Linked DNA regions of Homo sapiens: all the other regions are linked to region 2. Evidence: promoter capture Hi-C in 16 types of primary human blood cells and fetal thymus (Javierre and others, 2016). All regions are on one chromosome and are shown on one strand. The core of a region is centred on a gene start or on the middle of the fragment in contact, and the rest is flanking DNA. Distances in the headings are between cores, read along the strand shown.

What was found. The method cuts DNA at HindIII sites, captures the fragments that hold promoters and counts their contacts. A CHiCAGO score of 5 or more calls a contact.
Region 1: a fragment that was not itself captured here is called in contact with the fragment with the promoter of UBP1 in region 2 in 1 of 17 cell types (M2 macrophages); the score reaches 6.1 in M2 macrophages.
Region 3: a contact is called between a fragment that was not itself captured here and the fragment with the promoter of UBP1 in region 2, in 1 of 17 cell types (naive B cells). The highest score is 6.4, in naive B cells.

Annotation. Positions count from the first base shown.
Region 1 is chr3:37,180,237-37,184,205 of GRCh38, forward strand. All of the region lies in intron 1 of LOC105377642 (a long non-coding RNA gene), which reads left to right. Among named protein-coding and RNA genes, the nearest start is that of LRRFIP2, 7.6 kb to the left of the region's middle. The HindIII fragment of the contact is 1,587 bases long and covers 1,130-2,716 here.
Region 2 is chr3:33,438,485-33,442,603 of GRCh38, forward strand. UBP1 (upstream binding protein 1) reads right to left here and starts at 1,921. Exons shown (of 16, transcript NM_014517.5): 1 at 1,252-1,921. The coding sequence starts at 1,364. RefSeq lists silencers at 926-1,160, 1,080-1,129, 1,360-1,679, 1,730-1,839, 1,900-2,059 and 1 more and enhancers at 1,379-1,878, 2,210-2,399, 2,610-2,899. The HindIII fragment of the contact is 4,671 bases long and covers 1-3,854 here.
Region 3 is chr3:36,969,507-36,973,485 of GRCh38, forward strand. No RefSeq gene overlaps it. Among named protein-coding and RNA genes, the nearest start is that of EPM2AIP1, 22 kb to the right of the region's middle. RefSeq lists enhancers at 243-292, 383-442. The HindIII fragment of the contact is 2,991 bases long and covers 636-3,626 here.

The sequences.
Region 1 (3,969 bases), core at 673-3,172, 3.7 Mb after region 2:
AATTCCAGAGTTTCTGTTGATATATATTTTTTTAATGTTAAGCTCTCACTATGTGCTAGATAATTTGCAAATGCTAGACATCCGACGGGAAGCAAAAACAAAAATGTTTCTTTTTCTTATGAAACTGGTAAGTTAGACAATCTCACAAAAGTACCTTTAAAATCTAACAGGTATTACAAAGGGTAGGTATGTGCTGCCATGAGGGCATAAAAGCATTGGGACTTGACCTAACCTGAGGTATCAGAAATGCCTTCTCCTGGGAATAGATGTTTCAAGCCGAGATTTAAAAGTGCCTCAGAGTATAAACTACATGCAGAGGTGGGGGAAAGCAAGAAAGCACAAATAGACCTCATGATAGAAGCAACAGAGTCCCAGGGACTGAAATGAGAGAATGTGAGATGAGTCTGGAGAGTTAAGGGTCCACCATTCAGGGTCTTAGAGGCTGTGGTAAAGATTCTAATCTTTGTTCCGAAATCTGCAAACCAATCGAGTTTTTAGTGAGAGCAACATGATCAGATTTGTATTTTCAAAAGACCACTCTGACTTCAATGTTAAGAATTCATTCATGCATAGTGTCATGCACCTGTGGTCCCAGCTACTCGGGAGGCTGAGGCACAAGAATCGCTTGAACCGGGGAGGCGTAGGCTGCAGTGAGTCGAGATCATGGCACTGCACTCCAGCCTGGGCCACAGAGTAAGACTTTGCTTCAAAAAAGAAAAATTTTTTAAAAAGAATTCATTTTTGGCCAGGTGTGGTAGCTCACAACTGTAAGCCCAGCACTTTGGGAGGCCAAGGTGAGAGGATTGCTTGCGCCCAGGAGTTTGAGACCAGCCTAAGCAATATAGTGGGACCCCATCTCTACAAAATATAAAAAAATGAAAACATTAGCCAAGTGTGGTGGTGCGCACCTGTAGTCTCAGCTACTCATTCTTTAAATAAATGCATCCTGAAGGCCTGCTATAGACCAAATCCTACTCTGCACACAGAGCACACGGCAGTGGACAACAGACAAATTCCCTATCTGTGAGGATCTTACATACAATATACAAATCATAAATAAGATAATAGTGCTGTAAGAATATTGGAACAGGGTGAGAATGAAAGGGTAGGGTGGAGTTGCTATTTTATAAGCTTGAATCCTATGAAATTACTGATTTTTAAAAATAATTTTTGACCTGAGAATGACATTACACCTTAGGTTTGAATGGTTCAATCCAGTTGTGTGACATTAGGGTCATATGGTTCAACTTAATACTTGGAAGAGTCAGAACTAATGAGGTGATCGAAAGAAAGAGAAGCAAGCCATGTAAATACCTGGGAGAAGAGCATTTGAAGCAAAGGAACAGCAAGTGCAAAGGCCCTAAAACAAAAATGTGCCTGCCATGTTTAAGGAGCAGTAACAAGGCTGAAGAGTAAAGGACAAGTGGGAAGAATGGTAACAGAGGCCAGATCATACTGGTGACCATGGTAACAAATTGGCTTTTCTCCTTTTTTTTTTCCCCCTTAAGACAGGGTCTCACTTTGTCACTCAGGCTGGAGTGCAATGGCGTGCTCATAGCTCACTGCAGTCCTGAACTTCTGGGCTCAAGTGATCTTCCTGCCTTAGCTTCCTTAGTAACTGGGACTACAGGCATCCAGCACCACGCCCAGCTAAGTTTTTTTTTTTAAGAGATGGTATTTCATTATGTTGCCCAGGCTGGTCTTAAACTCCCGCCCGCAAGTGATCCTCCCACCTCAGCCTCCTAAAGTCTTCCAAAATGCTGGGATTACAGACGTGAGCTATCACGCCCAGCCTGGTTTTTCCTCTTTGAGTAAGCTAAGCCGTGGGAGGGTTTTGAGCAGAGGAACTACACATCTGCCATTATTTAAAGGAGTATTCTGTTAATGGTAGAATATAAGTGGTGGATGCAGAAGTGATTGCTGTAAAATTCTTTCAACTTTGCTGTGTGTTTGAAATTTTTCCTAATAAAATAATAGTTTAAACTGGTTATTGTGAATAGACTTTAGGGGAGCAAAGGTGAGAGCAGGAAGACCAGTTAGGCTATAACAATAATTCAGGTAGCAGTGGAAGTGGTAGGAAGTGGTTGGGAGCAGATGTGGTGTTTGAATTACAAGTCAGTAATTCAGAGGAAATACCAGGTAGGAAATACAAATGTATGAATCCACCTAAAGATTAGGAAAACAAGGACAAATGTCTTGAGAATTAAAAGAAAATGCTCAGAAGTGTACCCTAAAGCCTCTTACTCATGCTTTTGTTCTAGGCTGGTTTTGGTTGTAGATAGTTATCAGTTATTATATACTGCCATTCAGATTATTTATATGTATTACTGTCCACAACTCACTTGTGTTCTAAAGGGTTTTTTTTAATAATGTTCTTGTCTTCCCAAGCAGATTACATGCTTTTTGAGAAAAGATCTATTTTTTTGTATACACCCCGCAATGCCATATTCCTAGAAGGCATTTTCAATGTTCACAGAATAAAAATATTTGAATACAGAGCTTTTCATGTCTTTTGTTTTTATAAAACATCAATTTTCTTATAAATGTTTAATTTAGACACTTCTGAAAATGAAGGTAGAGTTAGAATTTTCAATCTGTTGCAACTTATGCCCATTTCAGGTCAGACAAATAAAGAGAGAGCCTTCTGGGGGGTAAAAAAAAAAAAAAAAAAAGGCCCAGGTTTGTGCCTGTAGTAGTAATGTCAGCTACCTCAGGAAGCTTGAGCCCAGGAGTCCAAGGCTTATATGGCACCACAATTGTGCCTGTGAATAGCCACTGCACTCCAGCCTGGGCAACACAGCAAGATCCTGTTTCTTTTAAAAACAAAACAAAACAAAAAAAACCCCAATCAGCTTTTCTCCATATTGGCTTATACTCAGACTTCATCATGTGGCAACAAGACAGTTCTCAAAAACTTTAGTTCTATATTCACTCCAGTCCAAGTCCAGCAAGAGATCCCTTCCAGTAGCTCCTAGATTCACTGAACCAATTACCTTGCTACAGTAATTTGTTAAAGGATAGAGAGTTACCTTCCCATCCTTTAACAAATTACTGTAGCAAGGAAAACTCTTGTGCTATGATTAGCCAAATTTGAGTCATATGCTTTACCTCTGGTCCACCCAAAGATCATGGACTATAGGAGAGGAGTGGTTCCCGGAAGAACAAAATGGAGTACTGTCACCAAAATATAGAAATGGATACTGATGGTGAAAACACAATGCTTACTACACCAACTAACTCAAAGGCCTATGCATTGTTTCTTCCTTAAGCTTTTGAAAGAAGTTAGTCACTGCCATGGCACTCACTTTGAATCTCTTCCAATTCCACACACAATACTGCATTTTTTCCCCTGAATCATCAGGCAGTCATATATTCAGTTGCCATTGAAAAGTAAATGCATGATTATGAAAGTTAACCAGCTGGAAGGGTCAGTATTTCAGTACATCACTTTTCAGGACACTCCCAACTGGTATTGCAGGTAGTTTCTTGTCCTTAAAATTCTTTCCTGTTGTCAAGCTACCTGAAACGTATTTGTCCTCGATACCCTAGGGGCAGGGTGGCTGATAACTAAGGTGCCTGGGAAACACTTCAGAAGCAAGTGACAATGAATTGGCTTAAGAAGCCAATTCATCTTTTAGATGGATATTTATACTGTAGAATCTTGAAAGGAAAATTTATCTACAGATATGTCTGTTTTCAGTTTCTTTTCCTTTTTGCACTAACAAGTTATTTTCCCCACATGACGTTTAATCTACCTTACAAAACATTTTTAACATTTTAGTTCAAAATTTGCTTCAGAAAATGGATGACTTTGGTGTGAAACGATTGTTGACTCTATTATTCTAGAATTTGGGATGGCGCCTCTAGTTTGCTGCTTCCTTGGACACCAAACATAACATTCTCTGTTCTAGGACGTGCTTCAAGTCGGTCATGAGACTGGCAGAAAATCAAACCAAACTAAATGAATGG
Region 2 (4,119 bases), core at 671-3,170:
TCAATTTCCTCAACAACTGAAACAGCTGTTTTAGAAAATAAGCCAACTCATCTACAGGCCTTAAGTTATACAACTGCAGAGAGAAGAGGTGCCAAGTTCAGGAAGCCCAACAGAGACCAAATCAGAGCCAGACGCTGGGGAACTCCAGGTTTAATATGCCTTCCACTACTCACTTCCACACTCCAAGAAATGTCTCCAACCTTTCTGAGAGTTCTTTATGGCTCAGAATTTCTCCTTAAGATTTAAAGACCCAATTACTTCAAGGAGCAGCCACCAAGATTCCAGGCCAGCTTTAACCCAGAAGTCCTCCTCTAGAGCTGCAGTAAGATGTATGAATGCTACTGGGAAACTGTAGAGCACTTCCAAAACATCAGACATTTTCTAAAGAACAGAAAGCTACACTTAATTCACATTATTGAAAAGCTGCCAAACCACTGATTTTTAGACTTTATTAGTCAAGTCAACGCTATGGTAAACTATATTTCAATAAAGCCACTAAAAAAATACAGAGTTTCCAAATTCCTAACAGTTAAAAAGGATAAAGGGCGGAGACTAAGCTCAGATCTGTTTCAATCTCTCCATATTAAAATGAATGACTGCTGGTACAGACAGCAGAGACTAAACAATTATTTGTGGTGCAATCACTGCATCTTAAAACCCTCAAGAGGAAACAGCCTGAGAGGGTAGTCTCCAAAATGAGAAACTTCACTTTGAGACAATCAAAAGAACAAAACGAAGTCACAGTGCTACTCCCACCGCTGCTCTTTCAATTATAATTTACTAACATCAAGTGATTAAAATCTGCAGCCAGAAAAGATCATAATGTAGGACAACAAAGTAGGAACTGATCCCAAAACGCTAGACAGTATTCTCCCAATATAAGTGCTGCCTTTTCGTACAGTGTATTCTAGCTCCAATGGGACTTGTAAATCACTTATAAGGAAAAGAAGCCCCTTCCCCCACCAACCCAAGCCATCCTAATAGCTGGGCGTGTTTTACAGCAAATATGAAGCACTCAGGAGCGGTCCGAGGCCGACGCTTGCGGGGCCATCCTCCCCCACCCGCCCGTCACCAGGGCGAGCAGAGGCCTTTGGGGTTCCATGGCCCCCGACCGCCACGCGGCAGGACTCCGACCCCGCAGCCCAGGAGGCCCGCGCACCTCTGGGAGCAGCCGCATCTGGCAGAGACTCAGGGCTGCGCAGGCCTTCCCCAAGGAGACAGAGGCTTCTCCCCGCCCAGGGAGCCCAGTACCTCATGCTGTAAGCGCCGGCGCCCAGTTCCTGCCCGATGCCCGAGAGGCTGGCGTCGAAGTCGTGCACCAGCCCGGACTCGATCACCTCGTCCATCTTGAGCACCCAGGCCATCTTCCGGCCTCGCCGTCGCCCCGCACACCGCGGCCTCCGCGTCCAGGGCGAAGGAGCCGGAGCTCCGCTGGCGCGTCCTGGGGGAGGGCGCGGGTGAAGCCTCCGGAGGGGCGGCGAGTGGTCACCAGCGGCGGCCGGGACGAGAGCTGCGGGGGCCCCACTGGCAGGGCACGACGAGCCCAGCGAGCAATTGCAGCGGGAGCGGCCGGGCCGCCGGCAGCGCCACCCTCCCGCGGACACCGGCCCTGCGCCTCATGCCGGCGCCGCCGCCCAGCCCCCGCGCCGCTAGCGCTGCAGCCGCCGCCGACCGCCCCGCCCGGGGCCCCCCGGTCGCATCCTCCTCCGGGACCGCTGGGAGGCTGGACCTCGGGCCGCTCCGAGGACCACACGGGGGCAAGCCCTCCGCCCGCCCGTCACCCGCCCCCAAGCCTTGACTCCTTGCCCCCGGCCCGCCCAGGCTCTAGCGCCACACCGCCCCGGCCAACCCCGCCGACGCCGCTCTGCCGGCCGGACGCTGGCTTCAACGCGACTCCGACTTAGGTTCACGCGCCGCTTCCGCCTCCCCCGGCCCCGCCCCGACCCCGCCCCGGCGTTCGCCCCACGCCTCGGCCCTCCCCGTACAGCCCCGCGCTTAGGGCCACTCCCCGCGCCTCGCGGCCCAGGAACTGTCCAGAGAGTGCAATGCGGCCCCGCCCACGCGGCTGTTCCCAGCCGGGGTGGCCTCGCTGCGTCCCCGCACAGCAGCCCAGGAAGAGGCGGTGCCAAAAGGGCTGCCAGTTTCCGCCCCTTCTAGCGAGCGAGATGATTGACAGGCCAACTGAGCAATACCTGCAAGGGCTTGGACGAAGCTCCCGTGAGTCTCTGTGTCCCCCGACTAAACAACCAATCAAAATGTTCTTCACCTTGGGCGGGCTCGAAGACGGAATTTGTTGCCAAAAGAAAGAGTTCATTGGACTGCATGGTAGAAAGCGACCCAAAACGCCACTTCCGGAGGTGATTTGCTCCTCTGTGGTATTTCCCGGTCGTCTCTGCTTTATGCCCTCTCTACCGAGGGAGTGAGCGGTTTGCACCCCATCTGGTGACAGAAAAGCCAGTTGTGCAGAAAACCTTGATTGGCGTGAGAATAAGCCAATCAACGCTCCTGAGAAAGAGCTCTGGAAAGACTTCCCCTATTGGTTGCATTGCCGAGAGCAGCTTGGCTATCCTGAGTTGAACTAGCTGTTGGTCATCCTAAGGGCAGGCGGTCTCCTGAAGTTGGACCGAACCATTAGGACGTGCCACAGTAACAGCTACGCTGCTCAGAAGGCCCGAAGGGTCTTCCTCAGCGACCTAGCGTGGGCACGCGCCACTGCGGCCAAAAGACAGAAATCTTTTTACCGGAAGAGATGAAATAGAAAGCAGGAGCCAGAGGCTGACTTACAGAGCCAGTGTGCGGATCAGAGTTCCTTAGGAGCGGCTGCTGGCGCTTGACGGGCGGAATCCTTGCTGAAGAGAACGTCAAGGCCCGGGCTTCGCCCTGCATCGAACTTACTGCCTAAGAATAAGACCCAAATGCTGAGCGCCCCGCCCCAACTTGCCAGTTTAAGTGCAAAAATACATAGATTAAAATGTCAGCCTAATAAAGCAGTGGCACTGAGCCAGAAAAAAATAGTCTCAACGCCTGTGTGATTTAGATACTAACTTACAGGCTCACGCCTGTAATCCCAGCACTTCGGGAGGCCGAGGCGGGTGAATTAGTTGAGGTCAGGAGACCATCCCGGCCAACATGGTGAAACCCCGTCTCTACCAAAAATAACAAAAATTAGCTGGATGTGGTGGCGCGCCCATGTAATCCCAGCTACTCAGGAGGCTGAGGCGGGAGTAAGGCTTGAACCCGGGAGAAGACAGAGCAACACTCGGTCTCCAAAAAAAAAAACCACAAATTAACTTGGAGAATGTTTTTCTCTTTACACAACATTTTTGCAAACATTTCATTTGATAAAGCCATACTTTAGAGATGAGGTAATTCAGGTGAAAATGTGTAAAGATTACACAGTGCAAGGTCACACAGTAAGCAGGTAAACCGGGGCTATTTGACTAATCCAGATTTCTCTGATTCCAGGCGAAAACATTAGATTGGCCATCAGTTCAGGAAGCTCCATTCCACTATTACAAATAAATCTGCACAAACAATTGGATAGTCAAGGGAAACATTGGTCTCATTGGGGGTCTCAGATATGTCTTCATTCCATGATCTCACCTCACTTGCATAACCTAGTCTATAACCAGATTAGCCAGGCCTACTATTAGTTGTTGGAAAATTTGGAGAAATGGAATTGGGGGAAGATAATTCTCTGGTTTTTGGAGAGAGTGTAAAAGTACAAGCTACCATCAATTTTTCAATCAGGCTGTGCCCTAAGGAAGTACTGGGTCAAATATTTAGAAATTGAGCCTCAGGCTGGGCAGTGTCTCAGGCCTATGATCCCAGCGCTTTGGGAGACCAAGACTTAAAGCTTGGGAGGATGGCTTAAGGCCAGCAATTGGGAGACTAGCCTGGGCAACATGGCAAGATCCCGCTTCTACAAGAAAAAAAAAATTAGTTGAGCATGATGGCACGCTCCTGTAGTCCTAGCTACTTGAGAGAGACTGAGGCAGGAGGATCACTTGAGCCTGGGAGTTTGAGGCTACAGTAAGCTATGATTGTGCCACTGCACCCTAGCCCGGATGACAAGATGAGACCCTGTCCTTAGAAAAACAAACAACAACAACGAAAAAC
Region 3 (3,979 bases), core at 881-3,380, 3.5 Mb after region 2:
ACAGAAAAATTAGCTGGGTGTGGTGGTGTATGCCTGTATTCCCAGCTACTTCAGAGGCTGAGGCAGGAGAATCAGTTGAGCCCAGAAGGTGGAAGCTACAGTGAGCCAACAGAGTGAGACCATCTCAAAAAAAATTTAAAAAAATGAAGAAGGAAGGAAGGAAGAGAGGGAGGGAGGGAGCGTGGGCGGGGGGGGGGGGGTGGAGGAGGAGGAGAGAAGGAGTGGGAGGAGTGGAGAAGGAGGGGGAGGAGGAGAAGGATAAAAGGTTACAAGTGGTTGTTACTAGGAATGGGGGAGAAGAGAAGTGGGTAATGGCACTGAAGCTTTTTATTATGTCTTTCAGCATTCTCTGATTGTTCTTAAACCATCAACAGATCTCAGTATGTAGACTAAAAGGGAATATTTGGTGAAGAGATCTTCTTTCACTATTGTACACTTGCTATGGACATGTCCATGCCTGCTGCCTGGCAGGCACCATTCATTAAGTAGGCCCCTGTTGCCAAGGAAACCAGCTCTTCACTGATACCAAAGATAATGCAGAGGCCTGCCGCTCACCAAGCAACCTTCCTCATGAGCTATGCCCCCACCTTCCTGAACTGTCTCTTGCTCCTGTTTGATACTGTCATGCTGCACGAAGCTTACACTTGCTATCTCTCACTTCCCTCTTAGTCATCTGTGATGCTGGCTAAGGGAGCTAGGCCAGTCAGCAGTGACCTGTTGCCCTTGGTTTATTATAAGCAAACTGTTCACAAGAAATGAACTTCTGTTGTTTTATAAATGATATGCATCACAGAACACAGAATAATATCAAAACCACATTAGTTTTTTCATACTTGCTTCATTGACCCCAGGGGAAGAGGGGAGAGCAGGGAGAGGACTTTCTCTTTTTTTAAATACTAATTATATTGAGGTATAAAGAACATATAGTAAGTTCACAGACCTTAAGTATACAGTTTGATGAGTTTTGGCAAATATGTATACCTGTGGAACCAACACCTCAGTCAAGATATAAATACTTACATCAGCCGGGCGCAGTGGCTCATGCCCGTAATCCTAGCACTTTGGGAGGCCAAGGCAGGTGGATCATGAGGTCAGGAGATCGAGACCATCCTGGCTGTCCACTAAAAATACAAAAAATTAGCCAGGCATGGTGGCACATGCCTGTTGTCCCAGCTACTCAGGAGGTTGAGGCAGGAAAATCGCTTGAACCCGGGAGGCAGAGGTTGCATTGAGCCGAGATAGCACCACTGCACTCCAGCCTGGGCAACAGAGAGAGACTCCGTCTCAAAAAAACAAAAAACAACAAAAAAAACCATACATCGACCCAGAAAGTTCCTTCTGTCAGTAGCAGTTCACCCCCCCATGCCCCCAACCCTTGGCCTCCCTGCCTTCCCATCTCCACTCCCAACCCTCACTGCTCTGATTCTATCACCATTGTTTTGATTCTTCTGCTGTTGATCTTCATAAAACCAGTATATTTCCTTTTGTGTCTGGTTTATTTTCCTCAGAATAATGTTTTTAACATTTATCCATATTGTTATGTGTATCAGTCGTTTCTTCCAGATTAGTACTCTATTGTATGGATAGAGCCTATTTTGTTTACCCATTTCCTGTTGACAGACATTTGGTTTGTTCCCAGTTTTGGATTATAATGAATAAAGCTGCTATGAACATTCTTGAACGATGAACATTTTTGTGGACATATGTTTTGATTTTTTTGTGTAAATACCTAGGAGTGAAATTATTGAGGTATGGTATAGGTTTATGCTTAATTTTATAGAGTACTTAAACTTGATTCTTTTATTTAAAATTGTGATAAAATACACATAACATAAAATGAACCGTCTTAACTGTTTTTAACTGTACAGTGCAGTGGTACGAAGCACATTCACATTGTTGCACAACCATCACCACCATCCATCTGCAGAATTATTTTTATCTTGCAAAACTGGAACTCTGAACCAGGTGCGGTGGCTCACGACTGTAATCTCAGCACTTTGAGAGGCCGAAGCAGGAGGATCGCTTCAGCCCAGGAGTTTGAGACCAGCTGGGGCAATATAGTGAGACACCGTCTCTATAAAAACAAAATAAAAATAGACCAGGCGCGATGGCTCATGCCTGTAATCCCAGCACTTTGGGAGGCCATGGTGGGCAGATTGCCTGAGCTCAGGAGTTCAAGACCAGCCTGCCCAACATGGTGAAACCCCATCTGTACTAAAAATACAAAAAATTACCTGGGCATGGTGGCGCGCACCTGTAGTCCCGGTTACTCTGGAGGCTGCAGCAGGAGAATCGTTTGAACCTGGGAGGCGGAGGTTGCAGTGAGCCAAGATCGTGCCACTGCACTACAGCCTGGGCAACAGAGTGAGACTCTATCTCAGAAAAATAAAATAGCTGGGCGCGGTGGCTCATGCCTGTAATCCCAGCACTTTGGGAGGCTGAGGCGGGCGGATCACGAGGTCAGGAGATTGAGACCATCCTGGCTAACACGTGAAACCCCGTCTCTACTAAAAATACAAAAAAATTAGCTGGGAGTAGTGGCGGGCGCCTGTAGTCCCAGCTACTCAGGAGGCTGAGGCAGGTGAATGGCATGAACCCGTGAGGTGGAGCTTGCAGTGAGCCGAGATCATGCCACTGCACTCCAGCCTGGGCGACAGAGCGAGACTCCATCTCAAAATAAATAAATAAATAAATGAAATGAAATAAAATAAAATAAAATAAAAATAGCCAAGTATAGTGATACACATCTGTAGTCCCAGCTACTCAGGAAGCTGAGGTGGGAGGGTCACTTGAGCCCAGGAGTTCAAGGCTGCAGTGAGCTTTGAGCGTGCCATTGTACTCTCCCTGGGTGACAAAGCAAGGCCCTATCTAAAACAAACAAACAAGCAAACAAAAAACCCCAAAACTGGAACTCTGTATCTATTAAACAGTAATCTCTCATTGAGTGGTGTTAAGAGTAAAATTTTTTTTAACAAAAGAAAAAAGTAAAAAGTAAATTTTGAAAAAAGAATTAAAAACAAAAAATCTCCATTACCCCCTCCCCCAGCCCCTGGCAACCACCATTCTACTTTCTGTCTTTCTGAATTTGACTACTGCACATAACCTTATATAGGTGGAATCAAACAGTATTTGTCTTTTTGTGACTGACTTATTTCACTTAGGATAGTGCCCTCAGCTTTTAAAAGGAAAGACATTTTGATATATGCTACAACATAATATTCCATTGTATGTACATACCAAATTTTATTAACGATTTCATCTGTCAATGAACATTTGGGTTGCTTCCACCTTTTGTCTATTGTGAATAATGCTGCCGCGAACATGTTTAAGTCCTTGCTTTCACTTTTTTGTGTATACACCCAGAAGTTGAAATGCTGGATTATATGTAATTCTATTTTTAATATGAGTGACTGCCATACTGTTTTCTATAGTGGCTGTACCGTTTTACGTTCCCACTAAGAGAACATGAGTGTTCCAGTTTCACCATATCCTCACCAACACTTATTTTCTGTTTTGTTGGTGGTAGCCATCCTACTGGATGTAAACTTTATTCATTTTTCGAACCTTTTTAATATGGAATTTTCAAACACACACAAAAGATGAGAGATCTCCAGGTACCCACCACAAGCTTTAATAATGATTAACATTTGGTAGCAGGTGGACAAAGATATACCTTCTCTATAGCAGCTATAAGATCAGGGACAAACAAAGATCTATTTGGAACTCCAACTAAGAATGGTGTTTTGTAGGCTGCCTGATGAATAAGGTTAGATAACTAATGGCCAGTCTTTCAGCCTGTGCTCAAGGGATAGGATAACAATAAAGCATAGTTGGTGAAGGAGCAGCAGATAAAGGTCACAATAGATAGGCCATAAGAGAACCCTCACTATCACTTACCATTCAGACCATTCGCTTCATATTCTAACAAGTTATTTTCCTTTCATAAAAGGAAGCTGAAGCTTTTATTTGTGTTTGTGGT